Linked DNA regions of Homo sapiens: region 1 is linked to region 2. The links are contacts of gene promoters, found by promoter capture Hi-C in human tissues and cell types (Jung and others, 2019). All regions are on one chromosome and are shown on one strand. The core of a region is centred on a gene start or on the middle of the fragment in contact, and the rest is flanking DNA. Distances in the headings are between cores, read along the strand shown.

Evidence for each region. Contacts are between HindIII fragments. The study calls those that stand out against the background at their distance.
Region 1: a contact is called between a fragment that was not itself captured here and the fragment with the promoter of HS1BP3 in region 2, in 1 of the 25 tissues and cell types used here (hippocampus).

The regions. Positions count from the first base shown.
Region 1 is chr2:20,513,868-20,520,199 of GRCh38, forward strand. No RefSeq gene overlaps it. Among named protein-coding and RNA genes, the nearest start is that of RHOB, 70 kb to the left of the region's middle. RefSeq lists silencers at 3,376-3,425, 3,456-3,505, 3,516-3,615. The HindIII fragment of the contact is 6,182 bases long and covers 1,317-6,332 here.
Region 2 is chr2:20,648,498-20,654,890 of GRCh38, forward strand. It overlaps HS1BP3 (HCLS1 binding protein 3), which reads right to left and starts at 2,601. Exons shown (of 7, transcript NM_022460.4): 1 at 2,535-2,601. The coding sequence starts at 2,566. LOC105373466 (a long non-coding RNA gene) reads left to right here and starts at 2,785. Exons shown (of 2, transcript XR_001739320.2): 1 at 2,785-2,855; 2 at 3,478-3,703. RefSeq lists enhancers at 1,948-2,027, 2,048-2,197, 2,282-3,019 and a silencer at 2,278-2,867. The HindIII fragment of the contact is 7,709 bases long and covers 923-6,393 here.

The DNA.
Region 1 (6,332 bases), core at 3,158-5,657, 130 kb before region 2:
GAGTTTTTGCAGATATAATCAAGTTAAAATGAGGTTGTACCAGTTGGGGTGGGCCCTAAATTTAATGACGAATGACCTATAAGACAGCCATGTAAAGACACAGGGACCCAGAGATGCACAGGGAGAAGGCCATGTGAAAACAGAGGCCGAGGCTGGGGTGATGCCCTCAAGCCAAGGACACCAAGGGCTGCCAGAAAGCTCCAGAAGCAAGGAGAGGGACATGAAGCGGGTGCTCCCCCAGACCCTCCAGAAAGGACTGGCCTGGATGACACATTGCCTTTGGACTTCTGACTGTGAGGCGGCACCTTTCTGTTGCTGCAAGCCACCAAGTTTGTGGTGGTTTGTTGTGGCAGCCACAGGACACAGGCAGCCTGGCACCTGGATGCCACCCACAAACGCGTCGCCTGAACACAGCCTGCCCTTCCTCTGCATCCAGTCCCTTTCCACCTCCTCCCTGACACCTTGCTTCGTGTTTCCTGAGAGCTGTGTGCTCCTGCTGAGGTACTTCTCTCTGACACCTGTTTTCTAGCTCTCCATGTAGCCGTCTGGCCCCACCACTGGAAGCCCCTTCAGGTCTGAGTTCCCTGGGGCTGGTTTGGTTTTCTCTATAGTCAAGCTTGAGGTGGGTAATCAGGACAGCCCCCAGCCAACCCAAGGACGGTGACTGCTCCATCAGGAAGCACCACCTATTCCATTAGCAAATATATATCGAGCACCCAGTGTGCATGAGGCATTCTTCTAGGTCCTGTAAACAGAGCCATGAACACACTGGGGGCCTCACAGAGCACATGCTCCAGGGGGAAAGATGGTCTACACCTATCACATGGCACTGCCACAAAGGACTCAAGAAGAGCAGTTCAAGGGCACAGATAGTCCTGTTGGGGGAGCATTCCTATTAGGAGGAAAAAAAACTCATTACACAGACCTCCGCATAGATGATGGCCCAATTGGGGTCAGTCTGGGGACAGAAGACAGCATGAGTCAGCCACACTTCAGCCATCTGAAAAATTCTCTGTGCTCCCCTGTTGCAGACAGAGAAACTGAGGCAGGGGAGTGCTGCTGTTTTTTTCAGGGTATCTCAGCCAGGCAGGGGCTAGGACTGGGAGTCAAATTGGAAGCCCCTCCCGCTTCTGACTTCATCCCTCTGGTTTCCTGTTGAGCCCTCTGGAATGCATGTTTCCCTGCAGTGACGCATAGTCAGGGAAGGCAGGCGCTGGGGCCGTGCCCTGACTGAGTGTGAGGTAAGGGCTCTGTATTAGTCAGTTTTCACACTACTGATAAAGCCCAAGACTGGGTAATTTATAAACAAAAAGAGGTTTAATGGACTCACAGGTGTACGTGGCTGGGGAGGTCTCACAATCATGGCAGAAGGCGAAAGGCATGTCTTACATGGCGGCAGACAAGAGAAGAGAATGAGAGCCAAGTGAAAGGGGAAACTCCTTATAAAACCATCAGATCTTGAGAGACTTATTCACTACCATGAGAACAGTACGGGGGAAACTGCATGTTTTCAGCTCTCTCTCACCGGGTGCCTTCCACAACACGTAGGGACTATGGAAGCTACAATTCAAGATGAGATTTGGGTGGGGACACAGCCAAACCATAGCAGACTCCTTTCTGCTGTTCCCCTCCCTGGTCATGTGACTCACATGCCCTGCAGTGAATCCTAACAGCAGCATGAGAGCACAGCAGCCAGAATCCCCCCGGGTTGGACACCCTGTGATGGCAAGGTTAAGGGGTCACCCGACAGTCAGAGAGGAAAAGAGCAGGTGAGTGTCTCAGATGCGCACACACCCAGCCACCTGTTGGGAGTGGACATGAGCAGGGTTGGGCGGGAGAGGTAGTGTGTGAAGGTGTCCCCAAGTATCCTCTGCCTGGAGCCAGGCAAGAAAGGTAAGAAGTCACGTGTCTTCCAAGAGTGGCACCAGATGGAGGCCTTTCCTGTTTGAAATTGACTGGGTTTTAGGCGGCTCTGGAGCTTCTTCTTTGCTCAGCTGATGGCAAAGCTCTTGGAAGCTTGATGGTGGGACAAAGCTTAGAAGCAGTTAGAAGTGCTAACCAGGCACGGGGGGTTCAGAGGTGGCGGGCACACTGGGAAGTGCCACGGAGAGGCTTTGAAACTGGGCAGGCTAGTCAGTGCATGGACTGATTCAGCCCAGCAAGTATTGATTAAGCACCTGCCATCTACCTGGCACTGTGGGTTTACAGTGTGGGAGCAGGGCAGAGGGAAGTGCCAGCACATCCCTGCAGAGGGATGAAGAGGTGGCAGTGGTGAGGTTAGATAGCTCGAGCCCAGTGCAGATGAAGATGGTGAGAGCAGAGTCTGTGCACCCTCAGCCCATAGCAGCGAGAATCCTGCTGGTTGTGTACAAAGAGGCCAATACACCCGTAGGCCACAGGAACCTAACTCTAACTTATTAGAGTGGGAGCAGGCCCTTCTCCTACTCAGTTTCAAGGATGGTCCTTCCTGGAGCCAGAGGACTGTCGGAAATGACTGTGTGGGTCCTTCCAACCTGGGGAGTCTGTGATTCTAAAAACAGGCAAACAACCTCAATCTCCCTGGATCTCTGCCTTCCCACCCCCAGCCCCCTCTTCCTTAGACAAAGGGCTCTTGGAGGGATCTGAGGCTCATTTCATAGAAAGCTGAAAATAATATGAAGTAGAGTTTCTATTTTAGAGGGTAACACTTACATAAGGTGGGATCTTTCAAAATGTTCAATCTGATACCTATTTAGGGAAACATCAAACAGCCCCACAAACACAGCTCGGGGGAGGAGGCCACTCTGTTCTCCTCCGCATCCCCAGCTGGCTGAAGTGGTCTGTGGAGCTGCGGGGCATCTTAGATGTGCCTCCTGGCATGAGCAGGTGCCATGGGCTGGCTTCCTCAGCCAGGCAAGCCTGTCATCCTGCTCACTGCCTGTCCCCTGCATGGGTCAGAATCAGGGTGCTTGCTGGAGACCCCAGAAGGGCTGGGCACCCCCAGAGATACTGCAGGTGCCCCATGGAGGAAGAAAGCCTCCAGGTCGTGTGAACCTGGGACCTCAATCCAGGTCTTTTGGCACTCAGACCTCAAGCACTTTTGTTTGTGCCACATGGTTCTTGAGAGTTAATAAATAAAGGGCGGGGGAGCGGGAAGGAATGTCCTAAAGGCTTACTTGGTTAAATCTTTACCTACTTCCATTACCAGGCTCAACTTTGAAATTTCAGAAGGAAAGGAAGAGATGAAAAGAAAAATGTCACATTTCAAATCCTTCCCACAGTGACTCATTTCAGAAGTGGGGTTTCGTCCTTTTTAAAAACAGAATCAATACCGTCTTTCATGAAAACAGCTTTTGTTTCCCCTTCAGCTGCAAGCCTGACCGATCCTTCTTGGCTCAGTGCAGAGCCAGAGAAGGAGGCCAATGAGCAGCTCTCATTGCGGGCCTGGCAGGAACACCAGGGCAGGGCAGGGCGGGAGGGTGGGGAGTGCTGTTTGGAGGGAAAGAAGCTAGAGAGACCCTCTGCCTTCTTCAGGAAAGGCCTTCACTGTTAACACCCCCATTCCCACCAGCTTCTAGGCCCTCACCCCACCCAGTAAAGCCAAACATCAAGCAGGGGACTGTGGACGCCACTCATTTTCCTAGAGCATCCTGGTCAGTGGATTTTAGAATGGTCCCAGCACCCCAGAAACATTTGGGTCTCTCCTCCTCACCCCCATATGGGGGTCAATCAGTGGACAGCCTAGGCACCTGCTTATGGGGTACTTTATTTAAATGCCTTAATAATTGTTACTTTTTGTTCTTTTGTTTTTTGGATGGAGAGACTCAAACATCTGTGCTCTGCATGCCACCCCTTTAACAGTTTAATACACTTATACTTTAAGTATGTGTACATTTGGAGCACTTACCTTGGACTTGGACAATTAAACACACTTAGGTTCATTTATTATGTATTTCTTTATTTTTATTTTTTTGAGACGAAGTCTCACTCTGTCACCCAGGCTGGAGTGCAGTGGTGTAATCTAGGCTCACTGCAACCTCCGCCTCCTAGGTTCAAGCGGTCCTCCTGCCTCAGTCTCTGGAGTAGCTGGGACTACAGGCATGCCCCATGACGCCCAGCTAATTTTTTTTTTTTTGCATTTTTAGTAGAGGCAGGGTTTCACCATGTTGGCTAGGCTGGTCTCGAACTGCTGACCTCAGGCGATCCACCCACCTCGGCCTCCCAAAGTGTTGGGATTACAGGCGTAAGCCACCGTGCCTGGCCTATTTATTTCCCTGATTACCTCTAATAATTTTACAGAAGTCGAGATACAAAGCTCCAAAGGGACACTCCATTCTAGGCCTCCATCCATGAGCATCCTCTACTACATTATTGAAGAGCTAAAGTTTGAGTTGAGTGTTTGAAGATGAAAAAAAGTTTTTTAGACAGACAAGGATGTGAGTGTTGTGGGGATGGGAACAGCTTGTGCAAAGGTGCATTAGAACCAACAAGCATGGCCTACTCAGAATTCAGCAATTGATTCAAGCTTGCAGCGGGGACAGGGAGCACGTGGAGTGGCAGGGTTCTGTTGGAGTGGCAAAGGGTGGATTGTGCTGGGGCTTGTAAGCTACACTGAGAAGACCAGGCTATCCTGGGAAGAATGGGAGTTTTTGAAATGATTTAAGAGTGAAATGAACTTCTGAGATCAACATTTTACAAGGAATCTTAGGTCTTCTGCCTTGGAGCACCATTAACAATGGTCCCCTTTCTCCAAAGACTAAAATGTTTCTCAGATCATAAGGGGGACAATGAGTATCCAATGGCAAACGATGCTGCTATGATTTGAGTAATGGTCTCTCCTCCAAAATTGATATTGGCACTTAATCCCTGATGCAACAGTATTAAGGTTTGTGGCCTCTAGGAGGTAATTAAATCATGAGGGCTGTGCCTTCATGAATGGCATTAACACCCTTGTAAAAGGACTTGAGGTTGAAGGGAGTCTCTTCCACCATCTTCCTTCCATGTGAGGACACAGCAACTAGGCACCATCTTGAAAACAGAGAGCTTCCTCACCTCTCTGTTGGTGCCTTGATCTTGGACTTCCCAGCCTCCACAACTATAAGAAATAAATTTCTGTTCTTTACACATTACTCAGCCTAAGGTGTTTTGTTAAAGCAGTAAAAACAGACTAAGACAGATGCCTTATCCTCACTGATCCCCATGGCAGGAGAACCCCTATCCTGGCCTGTGCCCATGGAAGAGCCTGGTGTGATGGGCCAATTAAGCAACTGCCACAGAGAGGGAGCCCTGCCTGAACCCCCTTTGTTGACTGCTGCAGCCAAGTATACCATCTCAGTAAAGAGGGGCTCAAGAATGGTCTCAGATGTGGGCAGGCCCAGGGAGAAGGAGCTGTCCCCATTCTTGAACCATTGTCAGGTTGGCCATTGAGTTGGGCTGAGTTTGGACTTGGCCAGGATGGAAAGTGAGGAAGAGGAGAATGGACAAAGAAAAGTGGCCCTGGATATTAGATGGTGGGGCCTGGGGGTTGACAATTCCTGTCTCCTGGGGTAGCGCAGTGCTGGCCACAAACAGGGCATCTGGTGAAAGTTTGCTGATTGACAGATAGGGCGGGCTCCTGCTCCCTCCACCTAAGCCTTGTGTCTCTGAGAACCCCCTGGAGGAGAGGACACAGCTCTGCACCTCCTGTGGCTGGAGGGCTTTGTACCTGGAAGTCACCTTGGCAGGAAGCCTTTCTGCCTCCCTCCTCATCCCGCTTCCTGCTATGATGCCCACTCATTCAGCTTTGCTTTTTTCCCATTTCCTGCTGCCAGGACTGTTCCATGTTTCACTAGAAGGGAAACATTATTGTCCTTTCCACTTCTTACCCCTTCCACCAATTTTCTTTTTAGGTAATAAATTTGTTCCTTAATGAGCTTCCTCAGGATCCAGCCAGGCCCCAGTCAAGGCCTGTCTCTGCCTTGGCACCTCAGGCACAGTCCTGGAGAAGCCAGGACCAGACCCCTCCCCAGGGATCAGCAGCAGCCTCCACCGGGACTCGGAATGTATTAGGCCATTATCCCACCAAAGATGGAAGCCCAAGCCCATGTCCTCTCTTCCCCAGGGTTCAGAACAAGCCCAGCAACACTGTAAGTAGCAACTGCACTAGCAACAATGCCCTCTGGTTAAAGCCATGCAGATAGCACAGGAAATCGGAATGGCAGGGGCTTTCAAGATCAAAGTCAGTTGGATCTTTTTTAGGGGAAGGGCGGATCGGGTTTTGAAAGGATTCAGAGATGGAGGAATTAATCCTGCCGTTATTTTGCAGACACCAGTTCTTTCACGGTGGGCCAGTGGCACCGTATAATCCAAGATGA
Region 2 (6,393 bases), core at 1,351-3,850:
ACTGGTGGCTGGAGCACCCCCTCACTCTTGGTTCTTCTCTGCCCACCCTGGCCACTCTTGCTCAAACAGGAGGAGAGGAACTGCTTTGGATGGTTCCCCTTGATAGCATCCAGAGCACCCTCCTTCTTCCTCTCACTGTACCCCTCCCCAGGTGATCTCATCCAGGCTCCAGGCTTTAAATACCATTTCCGAGCCAATGGCTCCCCAACTCCCATCTTTAGCTCACTCTCCCCTCACAGCCAGCCTCCTTCCAGCTGCAGCTGCCTGACATCCCCACTGGGCTGTCAACGAGCTTCTCAAAACTCACCTGTCTACACAAATGCTGCTTCTACCTCTCCCCAAGCCTGCTAAAGGGCAGCCTCATTCTTCCAGCAGCTTAGGCTGAGAGACTTGCCGTTAGTCTTAACTTCTCTTCTTGTTCTCACACCCCATATCCAAGCATCAGCAAACCTGAAAGCTCAATCTTCAAAATATATCGAGAACCCAAACATTTCTCACCCTCACGGCCGCCATCACCCCGGGCCAAGCCACCACCGGCTCTACATGGAAACCTACAAGCCTGTCCTGAATGCTCAGCTCGGCCACTGCCCATGCTCAGCATAGCAGCCAAAGGATCTCTATAAACCAGAAGTTGGGCCCTATTGCACTTGAAATTAAATCTGATGGCCCCTCCACAGCCTTCTCGGCCTTTCCTGATCATCCTTCACTCCCAAGCTTGCCTCTTCACCGCATCACCTAACACTCTCCCTGGGCTCACTCCACTCCAGCATACCAGCCTCGGGACCCTGGCTCCTGCTGTCCTGTCCTCCCAGTACACACTTTTCCAAGATTTCTTTTTCATGGCTCTCTCCCTCATGGAGCTTGTCCGGGATCTGTCCAGGCGCCACTCCATCAGAAAGATGCCTCTTTACCACACCATAGAAAACAGCATGCATGCCTCCTACCACTCTGTTGCCCCCACTGTTTTGTTTTCCTTCATAGCATGTATCATCCCTGACATGTCGTAGATTTGCCCACTGGGCCTGTGCCCTCATTAAAGCTCTACGAGAGGGACTTGTTTGTCTCCTAGAACTAGGGCCAGTACCCGGTACAGAGAAGGCTCTCGATAAACACCTTCTGGCTGAATTCAAGCTTGAGTGCATGTGGCAATGACATGTGGGAGGAGATCGGGCTGGAAAGAGGAGCTGGGGTGCGACTGGGAAGGGCCGGCCTTGCTGCTGGGCTAAGGCGTTTGGACTCACCCTGCAGGCAAGATCCTTGGGTGTGCTGGTGCCCTCAGCAAGAAATGAGCCTGACTCATGTGGCCTTACCACCGCCAGCGCCCCCACATCTGTTAACAAGCCACGTCCAGGCTGTGCAGCGGGGCAGGGAGGGAAGCCACCCACCCCATCCCAAGCACCCAGCACCAAAGTCACACCCCATCCATCTGCACATGGCTGAGGGGCATATACTACTGACGTTGCTCATGCCTGCCAATCTGAAACCTCCAATTCACAGAAAAGGAAACTGAGGCTTGGTGAGAGGAGGTGACGTAAGTGGCAGTAGGGAAACCTCTTCTGCCCATGAAGATACAACTGTAACCACACTTGATCATGAAAGACCAAGCAGCCTCCGACATCAGGGTTTACAAAAGGAATCATACCTTTCTAGACCTGAAGTCACGGGGAATTCCTGATTACAACTGGAAGATCAACAGTTGGCTGGGTAACACGTTCATTTATGTCATAAATTGGCATCTTAGCCTAAGACTTTGTGTAGGGAGAGCAAGGGTGAAGTGTATGAAAATATTTGAAGTAAATCACTTTACAGCGTTTTAAAGGCGGAAAGAAGTAAAAGCACGTGCCTCCCAGCCTTGCCAGGATCCACCTTGGGCTGGGTCCTCCAGGTCTCGATCAGGGCCGACCCATTCTGCATCCTCCGCCTGGACCCCTCCAAGGCTTTTGCTGTAACTTGCGCTCTCCTGAGCTGCCTCGCAAGCAGCAACGACCTCTCCCTGGTCTCTCATCAAACTCATCCTCCCAGAAACCGGGTTCCTGCCCTGTACTGTGTTCCCATGGCAACCTGAGCTTACTACCCGCTGCTGGCATCACCCCCTCTCCGCTGCAGCCCCCTGCAGGGCGAGCTTGTCTGATTCGCCTCTGTCCCCAGTGCCCAGCACCGGGCCTGGGACTCAGGGAGCTCTGAAAGGATGGGGAACTAGATTTTCGGGCTCAAAAGAGAAGAACCCAAGGCGGTAGGAAAGGAGAGCAGAGTCCCCACTGCGCCCGCCTGCACTGAACCAGTCAGTCCCAGGGCTCCCGCTGTCCTTGGCTAGTTCTCTACCCTCCAGAGGGCCTCGGTTTCCTCATCTGTAAATCGGGGTCGCCACCTCTCCTGCAGGGCGGTGCAGGGGCCCAGCCCGGATAAGCCACCGAGGGCGCTGGGGAGACCTGCACCAGGTCCCTGGCCTAGGAGGCGGCGGCCTCCCCCCGCCTCTCCGCCCGGGCGCCCCGGACTGCGAGCTGTGCGGTGTGGGGCGCGGGGGTCTGGCTCACCTGGAGGTGACGAGCACCGCCGGGGACTGCATGACGGCGGCGGGGACTCCGGGCGGGGCGCGCAGTCACGGGACCCGGCAGTGCCCGCGTCACCGCGTCCCCGCCCTGCCTCCCGCTGCCCTGGCCTGCCCCCTGGTGGCAGCGGCCGCGCAGTTCGCGCCTGTGGCCAGAGGCGGGGCGGAAGCGCGGCTGGGCGGGTCCCGCACGGTCGCCGTCGGCCTGCGCTGCTCGGAGCTTCCGGAGCACCCAGGCTGAGCCGCGCCCGCCGCAACCACCTAGAAGAAGCCCAGCCTGGCCCTGGCACACGGTGAACCTTAATCGGTGTGTCTGTTTTGCGCTAAAGTTTAGCCGTTAGAGAGACGGGACTCTGCTGTTTCCGCCGCCAGTCCCCATTACAAAACCACTCCCCCTCTGCCCCAAGACCATTTCATTCAACCGATCGGTCAACAAATATTTACCAAGCTGGGGCTCTGTCCAGGCTTCGTGGGGTCTTCTTCAAGCTGCACAGTGAACGCCACGCAGCAGCCCAGTCCCCTTGAGCTTGCTGCCTCCAGCTAGCTCGCCTATCTGGTTCCTACTGCCTGCCCGCTCCATAAATGGCAGGCACTCTCCCGACAGGGGATCTTTAGAGAGGCAGCCTCTGCTGCTTGGCAGAGCCCTGGTGGAGGCCTCCCGGGGCCGGGCCTGCCTGGGATGGCTGCACTTGGGTCCCCAGCTGGAGCAGGGCAACGGGGTCCAGGAGCCAGTTCCCCTCAGAAGGGGAACGTACAGACATGCAGACCCTAACAGACCCACTCATTTTAGATTCACCTCTCCATGGGGTGAGGAACAGAGAGATCGTATCACCTGCCAACGTAGCCCAGGGAAAGAAAAGCTGAGTCTGCAAACAGGGCCAGCAGAAGGTGCAAACTGCTGCCCCTGTTCTGTTACTCCCTCCACCCAGAGCCCCAGTGACAAAAAGAAAGAGAAGCTGGGCTTAACTATACCAGAATTCACGGCAGGGCGATGTCAGCCATGTTTCCTGAGCCTATCAACCACCGCCACCAGCATCACCAACAATATCTACCAGTTTTTACAGATTTTAGTGAAGAAATCCTACAGTAAAAGATTTTGAAAAATGACTTTCCCCAATGTATCTCTTGAATAAATACGGACATTGATATGCCTTATTATTTGTCTCAGATTTGTTTATAGGCAAGATGAGCAATCATGAATGAAGTATGACAATGAATGAAAGTTCTGAGGGAGACCCTTGAAGGCTGCAGTGAAGAGCTGGGATGATGGCGGGAACCCCTGTCTGCTCTGCTGCTCATCGGCCTGTCCGTCTGCAGGGCCGTGTTCATGGCTGCAAATGGTCCTCCGTGTTTTGTTTAAATTGGCATGCCCTACTTTAGAGAAAGGGAGTTCAGGGTCTGGACAGAAAGCAGTATAGGCTTCAGCATTCCAGGAGTCTGAGTGTAGTGCCAGGCAGTCGAGCAGTCACCATTGCACTCACATTTATCCAACAGACAGAAACACAGTGAATAAGACACTTTAGATGCCTTCAGTGGACTTCTTTGCCCTCCTACATGGGGAGTGGGTGGGGGTCTGGAAAGGCTTTCTAAAGGAGCTGAAGTCCAAGGGAAAACCTGAAGAAATATGGATAGAATAGATTAGAAGGAATGTCACGTGCAAAGCCCTAGCGACAGGATAGGAACACCAGGGAACAGGGGGAAGAGGCCAGCAGGAGCCAGGGTGTGGACAGCCTAGTGCACCAAGGCCAGGGCTTTGCCTGATCCTGAGGCCAACACAGCGCCATCAGAGGGTCAGGGACATAGGAGTGGCTGGGCCAGCTAGGGCGTGGGCAGGGTTTTGGAGCATGTTGAAGGTATGAAGATGAGCTGGACTGCAGAACAATCCAGACAAGAGACAATGGTCCCATGAACTAGGGTGATGGCCACCCAGGTGGAGAAGAGGGGACGGGTAAGAGGGCCTTAGGAGAAGGAGTTGGTCAAGACTTGGGAATCCAATGGGTGTGGGCGGGAAGAGATAAGATACCACTATGGTTTGGCTCTTGTGAGTGGCTGGACATTGGTATCATTCTCTGTGGCAGGGCACCTGGAGAAGGAGCATATTTTTGGTAGGATGATGGGTTCTGTTTCAGACAGGCAGTGTTTGAAGGGCTGGACCTATTGATGCGATTGGGTTTATGGCCCTGGGCCTCAGGAAGCCGACCTGGGCTGGAGACTGACATAGGAGTCATGGGTAAAAAGGAGGCTGTTGAGCCTGAGAGTTGGGGTGAGCCCACCAAGGATGGTCTACAATCCAGAGATATGCAGCGGTGTTGGGGGGCTGCAGAGAAGGGGACTCTCCATCATTGTGGGAGCTGGTAGCATGTCTGTCACCAATGCCTTGTAAGCAAATGAGAGGGCCTCACCTGTGCCCCTGGGGTTGTGAAGTGTGCACCTCAGGAAGACTCGGCCCACCTGTCAAGAATGCAACTGGTTTCCCATGAAAGAACGACCCCATTCCCAACAGCAATCCCATTTTCTGCCTCTGTGGGTCCCACGTGCCCCTCTATGGCTCCAGCGCGTAATTGTATACAATGCATGGAATGTGGGATCTAAATCTGATATTTTCTGCTTCCTGTTTAATTCAAGGAGCCCCTTCCATGGCTGAAGCTGCGGTAACACAAACCACATTGCAAAGGATTTTCTATTTCTCTCTTTCTCACTGCCCTGGGAGGAACACTCCAGGCCTCAGTTTCCACCCAGGAAGTCACTGGGCCTCAGGACACTGTGGTCACTGAGAGACACCCGCAGCCTGCAGGGGGTGCTCTGAACTCTGGCTGAGCCATGCACCAACGTTTCCCATGGTGGCTCGGGTCTTCTGGGACCTTATAATTTGTCTCTGTTCCCTAATGTGATACTTTAGAGCTCCAGGGTCTGGGCACATCCACATGGAGCAGGGCCACCACCTTGCTTGTCACTCAGCAAACACTCATAGGTACAGCTCCAGGCCTGTTATCTCCCCAGGCCTGGGGGCTACAGAGCCTTATCCTGTGGGGCTCACAGCCCACTGCAGGGGCTCACAGGCCACTCTAGGACAGCTGGAGATTTCAACAAGGATGCACGCCTAGGGTGCTATGGTGCACAGAGGAGGGCACATAACTAACTCAGCCTAGGGTTGGGCATACAAAGAATTCTGCCAGGAGGAGGTGATGGCAGACCTGGGTTGTAAAAAGTAGGTATTATTTTTTTGAGACTTGATTTTCTCACTGGTGAAATGCACGTAACAGAAACCTTTAAATCATAACATTGCTTGAATTACATGAGGTAAAATGAGACTGAAACAAGATGAAATGTATGGCAGGCATTGGTGATGAGCTAACCGGAAGCCATTCACAACCCCCTTCTTCCTGGTTTTTATTACCATAGAGGCTGGAGAAGTAAAACACATGTCCCATTTCAGTTACAAGGGGCCATGTGACATAACTGACCACATATACTTAAGTCCCTGTGGAGGATTTATCTTGCTAGGAGAAAACTCTTCGCTCCTTCCTTGTCTTCTACCTGGGAAGGGGATACAGTGTTGGAGACACAGCAGCCATCATGGGAGCAGGAGGCACAGACATGAGTTTGGAGTCTACCATGTTAGGGATGAACAAGCCTGGGGAGCTGATGGCATATGAGCTTGCATACACGCCCTGGACTTTTTCTACAAAGTTCTCCTTGCATAAATGCCTAAATCACTCTAAGTGGGGGTTTTCTGCAGTGGATTTCCTGTTGGTGTAGTTGTAAAGTACTTACATAATGCCTGACATAAAAACTGCTCCATAGGGGATGCAGGGATGACTGAGGAGGAGGAAGAAAAGAGGTAA